Linked DNA regions of Homo sapiens: regions 1 and 2 are each linked to region 3. The links are contacts of gene promoters, found by promoter capture Hi-C in human tissues and cell types (Jung and others, 2019). All regions are on one chromosome and are shown on one strand. The core of a region is centred on a gene start or on the middle of the fragment in contact, and the rest is flanking DNA. Distances in the headings are between cores, read along the strand shown.

The links. The method cuts DNA at HindIII sites, captures the fragments that hold promoters and counts their contacts. A contact is called where the count stands out against the background at its distance.
Region 1: a contact is called between a fragment that was not itself captured here and the fragment with the promoter of CACNB4 in region 3, in 1 of the 25 tissues and cell types used here (liver).
Region 2: a contact is called between a fragment that was not itself captured here and the fragment with the promoter of CACNB4 in region 3, in 1 of the 25 tissues and cell types used here (lymphoblastoid cells).

Annotation. Positions count from the first base shown.
Region 1 is chr2:152,130,790-152,135,706 of GRCh38, reverse strand. It overlaps STAM2 (signal transducing adaptor molecule 2), which reads left to right. Exons shown (of 14, transcript NM_005843.6): 8 at 104-198; 9 at 2,223-2,305; 10 at 2,447-2,534; 11 at 3,539-3,593. It also overlaps the pseudogene RPL30P2. Among named protein-coding and RNA genes, the nearest start is that of CACNB4, 34 kb to the right of the region's middle. The HindIII fragment of the contact is 5,672 bases long and covers 1-4,322 here.
Region 2 is chr2:152,155,492-152,160,201 of GRCh38, reverse strand. All of the region lies in intron 1 of STAM2 (signal transducing adaptor molecule 2), which reads left to right. Among named protein-coding and RNA genes, the nearest start is that of STAM2, 18 kb to the left of the region's middle. The HindIII fragment of the contact is 5,894 bases long and covers 1-4,710 here.
Region 3 is chr2:152,096,203-152,100,515 of GRCh38, reverse strand. It overlaps CACNB4 (calcium voltage-gated channel auxiliary subunit beta 4), which reads left to right and starts at 1,472. Exons shown (of 14, transcript NM_000726.5): 1 at 1,472-1,567; 2 at 2,103-2,186. The coding sequence starts at 1,505. RefSeq lists a silencer at 1,274-1,563. The HindIII fragment of the contact is 13,270 bases long and covers 1-4,313 here.

The DNA.
Region 1 (4,917 bases), core at 237-2,736, 35 kb before region 3:
AAACGGATATATTCAAAGGAGGCTAAATTTAATTTTTAATTCATCTTTGCTTATTGTATTAAAATGTGGGGAACAAATGATATTTTTTGCACTGTATTTTTAGTGATGCCAATTGGTGGAAAGGAGAAAATCACAGAGGAATAGGACTTTTCCCATCCAATTTTGTAACAACTAATTTAAACATAGAGACTGAGGCAGGTAAGTTAAATCTTAGACGACATTAGATCTATTTAAGTTTTTTTCACTTAAATTTTATGTTTCAGTTTTGGATGTAAAGTAGATTGGCATTTAACTTTTGTTTTAAATCATTTCTTTATAGGCATGACAATCTAACCTACTTTTTAACCAAATTAAGGGGTTAATTTAGCCTGTGTCAATCCCAAGAATTATTTCCTCTTATTTTACATCCTCTGAGAGTTAGCATACATAGTTAAATGTCAGGCATAAAATCATTTGTGACCATGCAGGTATTTAAATCAACCTAACTATGTAGTGTAAGAGGCAGTTCATATCTATTCTGTACAAAGAGTGTTTTGATTCATCAGTGAACCACAGAGGCAAAGCGGGAGTGGTGTGGGGAGGTTGTGGTTGGCAAGTGCCGAATATGATTACTGGGGTTAGGAGTACTCCTAAATTTTAGACCTTTCCTCACCTTGATTTGATCCTAGGGAGCTTGAAACAATAACAACAAAGTAATGTAATCAAGCCACTAAGCTTCCTGTTTCAGATCTGCTGAACTTTAGTCAGTCTGCAGCCACAGACAGTTCCATTTTAGTCACTTTAGCCATTGTCAACCATGCTGAGAAAGCATTCCATTTGTTATTCAGGTAGGGAGGTGGGGGGATCTGAGTGTAAAGGAACAGCTCGTAATAGTACTAATGATGGTAATCAGAAATAGTTACTGGTTTTTGAGCATTCATTATTTGTCAGGCATTGTGCTAAGTCATCTGTACTATTGCATTTCAATCTCACGGTTCTGTGAGATAGCTACTTTTGTTGCCCTGTCTTACAGATAAGGACACTGAGGCTGAGGGATTATGTGTCTAGTAAGTGATTGAGCCAGGATTCTAAAGTCAGTCAGTTTGACCTTAACAATGACTCACTGAGGGATATATCAGTGCTAGTCCTTGCCAGTTCAGGAGAAAGAACTTCAAATGAAAGCATTATGCATGTGTAACATCGTCTTTGTATGTGTAGAGTGATACATTCAGAAAAATGAAGTCGTGAGAGGTTGATACTCACTGATTTGAATATAGAGTACTTTGCCATTATTTATAATTTTATTCCTTTTAACTGACTCTCTAAGTAGATAGGAATATTGGAGATACCTTTAAAAAATAACTTTATAGATCATGCTCAGGGGATTCTATATAGCAGTTTCTCCTTGACATAGGCTGGAGAGTATTAAGAGGAAAAAATATTGTGGATTTTCAGTTTATCCTTGTGTTATGCTGACTTCTGTTCTTTGAAAGTTAGCCAAATATTTGAAATAAATGACTAACAGTTGGGATTTAAAATTGTTTGGCTACATAGGTTTTTATTGTAGTTTTATTTTTACCAAAATTTACTTTGTTAAAATATGGTACATTCTAGCAATACTCCAGGGAACATTTAAATAGTTTTCTGGGTTTATGTATTTGTAAGTTTTTTTTCAACCTTCTCTTCATGAAAAACTTTTGTGTTTAGTGTTGTTTTAACTATTATCGAAGTTAGCTTAAAATAAGTTTTATTTTTTGTTCATATAGGAAATAGTTTTTTTAAATAGAAGGGAAGAGTGTAGAAGGAACTCGTAGATGTAACTATGAAATTAGCTAGTTAATAATCTGCTAGATAATAGTCTGCTGTCATATATTTATTCACCCCAGTGGTAACACTCAGTTTTCAGGAAAATGCCTAAAATGTCAGCTGCTGTTTATATTGTACACTTGTTCCACTAAAATTTTAAGTTCCAAGAGGTTAGGGATTCTTGTCTGTTTTATTCACCGGTGTCTGTATAAATGCCTAGAACAATGCCTGGCACATAATGAGTACTAAATAAATGTTTGTGAAATAAATGACCAAACGTATGTAATAAACGTATGTAATATTGATTATAAAATGTGGTGAATATTTGAAGGACTTTTATTTTTTTTTCTTATGGACAATCATAGGCCACTTATAAATTAATGACTAAAATTACTGAAGTAAATGCTGAGGAACTTAAAATTACTTTGTTTCTATAGCGGCTGTGGACAAATTGAATGTAATTGATGATGATGTGGAGGAAATTAAGAAATCAGAGCCTGAGCCTGTTTATATAGATGAGGTAGGGTCCCTCTTTTGTTTAATAGTTAAACTATCAAGACATTTAAATGTACTATCTTTGAGAATGCTTGGAAAGAGTAATTTCATATTTACTGAAGTTAAAACTCTTGAGTTTTTGAAAAGTGTCCTGTTACTTTTTTAGGATAAGATGGATAGAGCCCTGCAGGTACTTCAGAGTATAGATCCAACAGATTCAAAACCAGACTCCCAAGACCTTTTGGATTTAGAAGGTACTTAGTGAATATTTTATATTATTTTAATATTATTTAATATTTTAGCTATTCATGATGTCTTCAGTTTCTTCTGCCTTGTATTTGCCTCTAGAGGTTAGAAATCTCCGGTGGGGAACAGACTAGTACAGTAAAATAGTAAAAGTATTACTTGGAAGGCATTGTCATAAACCTGCAAATCCTTTTCATAAAGCAAGTATTTGTATTTCTTTAAGCCCACTAGTAAAATTGGCTGAAGATTTTTGCAGTCCAAAAAAGGACAGAATTAAAAATAACAGTACATCAAATTGAGTCAAAATGTTTAAAATGCTTATTGCTGTTTAATGTTCTTGTATTATGAATTTAAAGGACAAAATTATACATGATAATTGTTAACTTCATAACATAGTCAATTGATGCATGTTGATGTGTCTTTTAGTCTCTAAGAAATGTGAGAACAATTAAAACGTGTTTTTTATGCTTTAAAAAAAATCTTTTGGGATAAGAATCTCTGGTAAATAATTCTTCTTAAATCTTTATATAGAAGAAACATCTGGTTATGAATATAGAATACAGCGTTGTGCTCTTTATTGTGTCAGTGTTCACATTGGGAAATACACAGTATGTTTAATCTTGAAATGTCTTAAGTAAATGAAAAATCTTCATATCTGATGGGCAAAGGTTACATAGTTTATATACTGTGGCTTAAGTTTGTTTTAGTTAACTAATCATAGTTTTCTAGATGTCTTTAAGACTTTGGGATAACTCCAGATTTCACAGTCTGTCAACTTAGTTAATAGTTTCAAGAAAACATAATGAGGTTTTTATTTTAAAGTTGACCTTGCTTTTAGTCACATGATAGTAATATGTAGTAGTAGTGCTGAATAGTAGTCTTTCTCTAGCATGAGCTTAATCTGTGTGTATTATGCATAGTGTTGTATATTGGTGCTATATTGTTAAAAATTGTTGAAATTGGCTTAAACTGGATTAAGTTTCTATATTTGTAAGTATTTTTGTATTTACAGATATCTGCCAACAGATGGGTCCAATGATAGATGAAAAACTTGAAGAAATTGATAGGTGAGATTTTTCGTGCAGGAATAAAAAGTATAGTTTTGGGGGGTTCACTTGTGTTTTGGCAAACAGTAAAGTAGGGAAAGTTTTTGTGGAACTGTACAATTCATGGAAATTGTTTTTCAGTTTCCCAGGCTTTTAACAAATTTATAGCAAGGTGGTGCTTTTTATCTTGTTTTTGTTTTTCTAAAAAACAAGCTCTGACAAGTTTTATTAAATAAAAATTTTGCATGGCTTACTTTTAACCAGTCTGTTCTAGCATGCTTCTAGTGATATTAGAACTGCCTGGATCAGTGATAGCCAGTGTGCCTACTCTCTAGTATTTTCTGCATGCCGTGCCCATCATTGCCACTGTAGTGATGGACAGCAGTTTTGGCCAACATTGTATAGCACTCTATTTCAGATTTCCTCAAAGCTGGACAGTTTTAGTGAGGATGACCAATTTTGCTTTGCCTTTTCTGATCATCTTCAGAGTCTACTTTTACCCCAGCACATACTTTCCACTTTTCATAAGTTGGAGCCTAGAGTTAATCAACTCCACTGACTTTTTCCTCTTTGAGACCATCCTGCCTTAAGTCCAGGAGGGTCCCCAACTAAGAGCAGCTGCCAAGATGGCTGGGGAGCCTGGTGTTTTTTATTTAGGTAACAGTTTTCTGGGGTTTTTTTGGAGATTGACTTTTGCTCTGATGCCCAGGCTGGAGTGCAGTGGCATGATCTCGGCTCACTGCAACCTCTGCCTCCCCGGTTCAAGCAATTCTTCTGCCTCAGCCTCCTGAGTAGCTAGGATTACAGGCGTGCACCACCACACCTGGCTAATTTTTGTATTTTTGGTAGAAACAGGGTTTCACCATGTTGGCCAGGCTGGTCTCGAACTCCTGACCTTGTAATCTGCCCAACTTGGCCTCTCAAAGTGCTGGAATTACAGGCATGAACCACTGTGCCTGGCCAAGAATTGAATTCTTATGAGAAGTGGTACTTATAAAAATTTTAAATGAAATTTCTCTAGTGTTTGAAGCTAAATCACACCTTCTCTTTTCATTTCTTGTCCTTGTATTTGTTTCTATTGCTCTTTTAATTTTATCCTACATAGTTTTGTTTTTCTTTTTTTCTTTTTTTTTTTTTTTGAGATGGAGTCTTGCCCTGTCACCCAGGCTGGAGTGCAGTGGTGCGATCTCGGCTCACTGCAACCTCCACCTCCAGGGTTCAAGCCATTCTCTGGCTCATCCTCCCAAGTAGCTAGGATTACAGGTGCCTGCCACCATGCCCGGCTAATTTTTGTATTTTTAGTAGAAATGTGGTTTCACCATATTAGCCAGGCTGATCTCGAACT
Region 2 (4,710 bases), core at 1,278-3,777, 59 kb before region 3:
ATCCCAGATGATGGGCGGCCAGGCAGAGACGCTCCTCACTTCCCCGACGGGGTGGCGGCCGGGCAGAGGCTGCAATCTTGGCACTTTGGGAGGCCAAGGCAGGCGGCTGGGAGGTGGAGGTTGTAGCCAGCCGAGATCACGCCACTGCACTCCAGCCTGGGCACCATTGAGCACTGAGTGAAGGAGCCTCCGTCTGCAATCCTGGCACCTCGGGAGGCCGAGGCTGGCAGATCACTCGCGGTTAGGAGCTGGAGACCAGCCCGGCCAACACAGCGAAACCCCGTCTCCACCAAAAAAATAGGAAAACCAGTCAGGCGTGGCGGCGCGCGCCTGCAATCGCAGGCACTGGGCAGGCTGAGGCAGGAGAATGAGGCAGGGAGGTTGCAGTGAGCAGAGATGGCGGCAGTACAGTCCAGCTTTGGCTCGTCATCAGAGGGAGACCGTGGAAAGAGAGGGAGAGGGAGACTGTGGGGAGAGGGAGAGGGAGAGGGAGCAATCCTGTTCTTTTAAAAACGAGGAAAACTTTCAATAACCATACTTTTCCAATGGGAAAAATATGCCCCCAGTGGGTGAGCTCTCCATGCGGGAGGACTCAGAAGTGATCACTCATGAGGGACGCTCAGGAGATGATAGAGGATTAGGCTCTATATAATGATTTTAATAGTCTAAATATATACAATTTATTCATAGACTAGAAAAAAAGTGGCTTTTCTACATTTTTGAAGAATTTAGTTTTTTAATGAATTAGTCCAAAGAAAGAATGTTTCTATCTTTAGTAAAAGCTATCATTGTGGTTTCCTGCAATGTATGCAAATTAATTCTACTCATTTACTTGTTTTTCATTTTCTGGTTTTTTTCTTTTTCCTTTTTCTTTTCTTTTTTTGTTTTAGAGACAAGTGTTTCACCCTGTCACCCAGGGTGTGGGTGGAGTGTAGTGGCTTGATCATAGCTTACTGCAGCTTTAAACTCCTGGGCACAAGGAATCCTCCCACCCCAGCCTCTCAAGTAGTGGGGACTACAGGTGTGCACCACCATGGTGCCCAGCTTCTTGTTTCTGCTTTAGAAAAAAAATTATATATATCTGTGTGTGTATATATATATATATATGGTTTTTTTTTGGCTAGCTTTTCTTGGTTCTTATACTGCAATTTTAAGGTGTAGAAGCAATTGAGGTTTTTTTTCCTCCTATTAATAGATAAAAGGCAATTTTTTTTCCTAAGATTGCTATGGTCAGAATGTATCCCCCAAAATTTACGAGTTGGAGACAGTCCCCAATGCAACAGTATTGGGGGATGGGGACTTTTGGGAAGTGTTTACGTCATGAGAGTACCTCCTTCGTGAATGGATTAATGCTGCAATAAAAAGGGCTTACAGGGGTGGGTTCACTCTCCCTTGTCCTTCTACCTTCTGCCATGTAAGGACACAGTAAGAAGGCCCTGACCAGATGCCAGTGCTTTGATCTTCGATTTTCCAGCCTCCAGAACTGTGAGAAATAAATTTCTGTTCTTTACGAACTACCCAGTTTCAGGTATTCTGTTCAATAGCAGTGTAAAACAGACTAAGACAAAGTTCTAAATTGCTTTAGTCATGTCCAAAGGTATTAATATGTAATATCTTAATCATAATACATTTTTATGTTGCCTTCTGTTTACTCTAAATTATCCACATGTCCTGATTGTTAAGTTTCCACGTGATCGGGTATTACAATTATTATTATTTTTTTTTTGAGATGGAATCTTGCTCTGTCGCCCAGGTTGGAGTGTAGTGATGTAATCTTGGCTCACTGCAACCTCCGCTTCCTAGGTTCAAGTGATTCTCCTGCCTCAGCCTCCTGAGTAGCTGGGACTATAGACGCCCACCACCACACCCAGCTAATTTTTTGTATTTTTAGTGGAAACGGGGCTTCACCATGTTGGCCAGATGGTCTCGGATCTCTTGACCTCGTGATCCACCCCCCTTGGCTTCCCAAAGTGCTGGGATTACAGGTATAAGCCACCACGCCCAGCCCATTTAATGACTTTTTAAATTGAGATATTGTACTTTTCAGTTCAGACATTCCATTTTTATAGTTTTCATTTCTCTGCTGAGCATTCACCAATGTTTGCATTCTTGAAAATATAATAATGTCTCTAAAGTTCTTTCTTGCCAAATCTAACATTTGGGTTATGCTGACATCTATTTTTATTGACTAATCTTGATTTTGGGACACTTGTTTGCTTATTTAGTAATTTTTTATATTATGGTGGACATTGTGATTATTCTTTGTAGGGAGGCTAAATTACATTGTCTTCCTTTAAATGGTGTTGAGTTTTGTTCTGTCAGGTTGTAATATTATTGGGGGGATCTTTTACGTTTTGACAGGCTTGGTTTTATTCTTTGTGAGGGAGGCCTATTTTGGTTTTGAACTAAATTCTAGAGGGCTTTTCCTCCTAAGGTGTGCCCTTTTTGGATTTTCAACTAAATGCATGAAGTGTTCTCTTGCTTTGTTTGGACAGTGTTAATGAGCCTGCTTGGGCTGCCATAACAATACCATAGACTAGGTAGCTTATGCAACAGAAATTTATTTTCTCACAGTTCTGGGGCCTGCAAGTCCAAGATCAAAGTGCCAGCAGAGGTGCTGTCTGGTTAGAGCTCACCCCTTGGGTTATATACAGCCCCCTTATTGCTGTGCCCTCATATGGCTTTTCCTTGCTGTGTGTACACAAAGAGAGTGCTAGCTCTCTGGTGTATCTTCTTAAAAGGACACTAATCCTATTGGATCAGGGTCCCATCCTTTTGTCCTCATTTAACAACAATTACTTCCTTAGAGGCCTCATCTGCAAATACAGCCACACTGGGGATTACGGCTTCAACATAAGAATTTTGGGAGGAACACAAACATTCCATGCATAATAGGGAGGATGACTCCCAGTGCTGCTTGACCTTTCAGCCCCATAGCAGGTAATCTCTGCTAGACCCCATAGAGACTCATCTCAAGTGTGTTTGTGTAGCCCAGCCTTTGGCCAAGGGCCTCTGGTTAATCACTGTGCTTAGAAACCTGGTCGCCATCTCTCGCTCTTCTTGGGCTAGTCCTTCTCTACTTGGGCTAGTCCTCTTCTACTTGGGCTAGTCCTCCTTGTGCTGGATGGGAAAGTATTCCAAGGCAGAAAGCTGAGGCCATCGTGAGGCTCACTACATATTTCCCTTCCCTCAAAGATCTGGGACCTGCTCTGCCTGCTATTCATTCCCTGAAAACAGTTGCCTCATTGATTTTGGCCTGTTTTATCATTGTTTTTGGTAGGATCGCAAGTCTGGTACCAGATATTCTATCATGTTTGGAAGCAGAAGACTAGTCATGAATTTTTATTTGCAAACATAATAGGAGGAGCTTTAAAGTTTTCTTGCAGCATTCTTATTTTATGTAGTTAAGTTGTTTATTACTGATAGAGCCTATTTTATTAAAAGTTTTATGGGTAGAGCTAGATTCTTTTTAAAGCTGTACTTTGAACATAATGACTGTAAGGGGGGGAGCCTTTTTGTTCCTTGTAGGTAGATATTGATGGAATTATTCTTTATCATATTGTTAGAATCTTTCTAAGCTATTTCACATTGTATTTGAGGCTCTTTTTATACAGTAATCAAAGCCTGGTGATGAAATGTTATGACTTACACCCACCAAATGCCGGCGATTTAGCATTTAGGCCCCAGGAGGGCTCTTTTAATTTTCTACCTCTCTATGCGTTTGACACAGAATAATGTGATATAGGGCCCCAACATTGGGCAAAGTGACATGCTATAAAAGAATGGTTTCTTAATTATAATATTTAAAATTTTCCAGGGGTTTAAAATACTCCTAAGTGCATAATTTAAATGTTATTTAGCTCCCTTGAAAAACAAAGTCCTTTTTGGCAGGCCATTATGAAGTCTTCAGATTTTATATTTTTAAAAAGAGTAATTGTGAGTCTTATATTTGTAGAGACTAAACTATGCTTGATAGAGTATTCAAATCAGGAATTTCCCATTTTCTATGGAAATTAAATAAACAATAGTCTAATTAGATATTTTAAAAATTGTTGGGCGGCTTTAGAAGGCATGAGATAGGCTTCATATTTAATGTATTACATGACCAGAATTGGAAAAATATCATGAAAAGTTGAGTTCTAGCTGGACTAGGTAGGTTATTAGATGGTCTAAAATCAGATTCACGTGATTATGTGTGTGTCTTTGTACTCATACATATCCATACTCATAAAATTTGATAATTGATGATACTGGCTCCTCAAATCAGTGAAGAAAGGATAGATTCTTAAATAATAGAACTGACAAAAAATTCGTAAAAATATTTTTCTGTTCCTGCCTCACACCACGTGTGAGGTTCCAGATACACTAAATGAAGTTCTAAATACATTAAAGATTTACATGTGAAAGGGGAATAATATACAGAAAAGAATGTGGGTAGATATTTAATCTTCAGGTAATTCAAACAGTATGCTAAATGACACTATAAAAAGAAAAATGGTAGATTCTGTTATAGCAAAAACTGCATCATAAACAAACAGGAAAGATTAGCATGAAGCTGTAATATATATGATTTGCTTTTCAGACTTAGTATATAAAGTTAGTTACCTATCTAAGAAGCTTTTGAAGCATTGCCTTCCCCACTTACCCTGTCTCCTTGTTGAGACTCCCAAACGGAGAGTTACTTCTCTTCAGTAAACAAGAGGAGAACTA
Region 3 (4,313 bases), core at 223-2,722:
GAGGCATTCCAAAGCAGAAGAGCTCAAATGTGATTGTATTTGGAATACTTGGGTATTGATGACTAGACCTGCCTGCTTGCTGGAAGGTTTGTATAGAGAGATCAAGATGGAGAAATGAGATGGAGAGTGATCAGAAATGCAGGAGAGGCTGAGTTGTTGGACCATGGAGTTTGGACTTTATCTTAGAGAAGAGTGACTTGGGCAAGATATTTTAGGAAAATGGTTTTGCCTGTAGTGTGTAGATGGAATGAAATCTCTGCGTGTGTATGTGTGCATGTGCATACGTGCACATGCACCAGGAAGCCTGGAGGCAAGGACATTAGTTATAAGATTGTTACAGAGGTTTGGATTAAGTGAAGGGATTAGGAATGGAAAGGAAGTGTCTGGTGGATGGTAAGATATAACCAGGACCTCAATAAAGCCAAGCAATTATTAAAACAAGCATGGTAGTTGTGTCCATAAACATAAAGTCCTAGAATGCAAGCTGATTTAGCGATTTGAGATAGTAAGTATATTTTAATTTAAACGGAGTCTCTTTATTTTTGAATTTGCATATACTTTTCTTCCCTCTTCTTATTCCTCTGTCAATACCTCGCACTTATTCTTCCTTTCCGCAATCCCTCTCTTTTAATTTGATCACAAATTAATCTCTTGTATGTATTTACAGGAGGAAACCAATGGCAAACGTTGTGTATGGTTGCAAGGATGAGTTTCTCCCCCTTGAAAATATCCATTCGCATAGAAATGGGAGGCACAGTGACCAACTCTTGCTTCTTAGCAGGTCTAACATGACCTTCAAAACTCCGTAGGACATACTGGTCTTTGGCGGGGCAGCATCTCCCGTCAGACTCAGGCTGGCTGGGTTTCTCACAGCTGCCTGGATGTGTGTGACTCGCAGCTCTAAGGACAGAATTGCCAAAGCAATACAAAAACACGGACGAAAAGCAAGCCACAAAACCCCATGCCTTACACATTAGGCTGATGAGTGAAGTCGCGGAAGGTGGCTCTGCTCTTGCCCTTTTAAAATTCCAGTGCAGCAAACACACACACACACACCCGCTCGGTTCTTCCCATTCCCGCCACACTGCACCAGCTTCCGTCCCCAAGTCCTGATTCATGAACCGTGCCACCTTTGTCTCATTTTAAACTGTGCAGACTATTTTAATCTTGCCACCCCCATCCCAGATTTCCCCCTCCCTTCATCCTCTGGAAGCTCTGATGTAAAGCGCTTGCTAGGTGGGAGAGCGCTTCTCCCAATCCGCTCGGGTAGGCGAGTTTCCGAGAAGCCCCCTCCCCGGGACCCCGCCGCGAGCGCGGGGGAAGCGCCTCGGTCCCTTTAAGGTGCCGCGCTCTCCGAAGTGCGGGCAGGGAGCCTGGGCGCCGGCGCGGGTCCTGGAGCCGGGTGGGGAAGTCCTGCGCCCTCCCCCTCCGTCCGCAGCCCAGCCTCGGGGGCCAGCCCCCTCCGCCCACCGCACACGGGCTGGCCATGCGGCGGCTCTGAACGATGTCCTCCTCCTCCTACGCCAAGAACGGGACCGCGGACGGGCCGCACTCCCCCACCTCGCAGGTACCGCCCCCTCCTCCCCCTTCTCCTCTTCCTCCTCTTCCTTCCTCACACCTCCTCCGCCGCCCTAGCGCGCCCCGCCTTCGTGCCGGGCGTGCGGGGCCCCAGTCCCGGGAGTCGGCGGCCCCGCTCCCCCCACCCCTCCTCCACGTCCCTTTCTCCTCCCGCTCCTCCTCTTTCTCCTCCTTCTCTTCCTCCTCCTCCTCACCCTCCTTCGGGTCTCTGCGCTCCCGCTCCGGAGCCCGCAGCCTCCCCCAGCGGATGCCGGGGACTCGGACCCCGCACCCTGAGAGTCTTTGTTAATGGATGTGGTGGGTGCTTGCGGGCTGCTCTTCTCGAGCATCTTTTCAGCAGTCGAGGCTTGCAGTGGGTGGGTGGGGGTGGGGGCTGTATTTGGGAGTCGCGGAGGAGACTTGGGTGCGGGCTCTAGGGGACCCCAGGGAGCGGGTCCGGAGGCGGACTCCAGCCGGGGGTGGTCGCCCCGCTCTGCGCTGCGGTCCTCACCGGCTTCTCTCTGGCCCCCGTGTGTCGAGTCCAGGTGGCCCGAGGCACCACAACCCGGAGGAGCAGGTTGAAAAGATCCGATGGCAGCACCACTTCGACCAGCTTCATCCTCAGACAGGTATGAGAAGGAGGCGGGAGACCAGGATGGGGAGGAGGCCGAGCGCGCGGCGCGGGGGTCCTGGAGCCGGCCGTGGCCCACACGTGCGGGAGCTGCGGGTCAAGCCCGCGCGCGTCTCTTCCCGGCCTCGGCCGGTGCTCGGGCTCAGTCCCTCTCCCTCTAGCCTGGGCTCTTGACGTCTTCGCGTCCCGGCGTCTCCGCACCGCCCCGGGAAGTTAGTTTGTGCATGTGTGTGGACAGTTCGGTGGGGACCTGGCTTAAGTCAGGGACGTTGAATTTAAGAGCTGGAAATATGTCTGGTTGTATCTTTGGTGCGTGGAGAAATGTCTTTAATTCGTATAACTCGACCTAGAGTAACCAGACCCCTCGGGGCCGGGGACCTGGTTTGATTCGAGTTGAGATTTAGTGGTTTCTTCTGTTTTGTCCTAATTTGAATACTCTTATCTGTCTGGATCTTGGGAGAGATCGTCAAGCTCCGGTCAAAAGAAAGACACTGAGCAGAAAGTTTACTCTCACTTTAGGACCGCTTCTTGGATTCGCTTAGTTAGGGAAAGACAGCTGTATCTGGTTAAATAGGAATTAACGAAGGCCAGCACTCAGCTCCGGGTCTGGGTGCGCCTTCACTTCGTGTTTGTTTTCTTAGTGCTTGCTTTCTCCTGCGTGGTTCTAGTGCGAATTGTCTGTGCTCGGGATCTCCGGATCGCTGGTAATGCTCAATGCTTAGGTGCCTTTCACCTTGGCACAGGAAATTGGTCCTCAGTTTTCCAACTGTCCATGTGCTGTTAATGAAACCACCCCTGGCTGCTGGGTGCTAGAGAGATCATGCAATGAGTCACCTTGATCTTTCTTTGGAACAGAAATTGTCGGGGTGTGTCCTAGGTTTCGGGTGACCTAGGAAGACATTGGTCATCGCACCAAGAGGCTTTTATCCCAGGTCTTCCTGTGGGCTGCTGGAGTGACCTTGAGAAGTTCTTTTCCCTCTAGGTCACTCAGTATTGTGTAATGTGTTTTCTAACCTATGATGGCAGCTCTGGTGTTTCTTTAGTGATTATCATCAATTTAAACATATCAACGAGGAATTGATATCAAAATTGAACTCAGACCTCTCCTAAAAGGGTCTATAAAGCATATTTAGATGATATTTATTATGCAGAATTTCACTTTCTGCAGAAGCGGAAATTTTGACTACCATTTAATTCAGCGAGCACTAAGCATGTACATTATGGAAATAAATGCATTTTGGATTCCGAATTCATTCTAAAAGTGCATTCTATCCCCTTTGCAGTATTTAGATTATGTATTTGATAAGGCAAACATATTGTTTATCTTAAAAACATTTTTCTGTTATGCAACTGTTTGAGGTCTTGCTGGTGTTTATTTTGTAGGTGCCTATTTTTAGTGGTGTTTCATTGTTGCAAATTCTTGGAAATACTAATTACACAGCAGTTCTTTCCATAAGCTGTTTGACTAAAACTTTTGAGTTCATCTACATAACTGCACTAATGCTTTATTCTTCCTTCCAAGCACAAACAAAATAATATTCTAATATTCTTACTCTTTTCTCAATTTATGCCCGTAACTGATTGAGATGATGTATATATAAGTTCTTGTAAAGCGTGCTGCTATGTGCTGGCTTAAGAAATGTTAAAAGTATTGCATGCTAAATAATTTTGGGAATAATTTAAAGCAAAGTAGATTTTTTTAAATAAATATATTTCATCTATGAAATGGGAATTCATTGGTTTGATTAAATGGTCTAATTTAAATTCAGGAGTTAATTGTAATTGTATTATATACACAATCTTATTTTTCGGCACAAAAATAGTACTTAATTTTTTTCTTTTTTCAGACGGAGTCTTGCTCTGTCGCCCAGGCTGGGGTGCAGTGACGCAGTCTCTGCTTACTGCAAGCTCTGCCTCCTGGGTTCACGCCATTCTCCTGCCTCAGCCTCCCGAGTAGCTGAGACTACAGGCACCCGCCATCACGCCTGGCTAACTTTTTTGTATTTTTAGTGGAGACAGGGTTTCACCGTGTTAGCCAGGATGGTCTTTATCTCCTGACCTCGTGATCTGCCCACCTCATCCTCCCAAAGTGCTGGGATTACAGGCGTGAGCCACCATGCCCGGG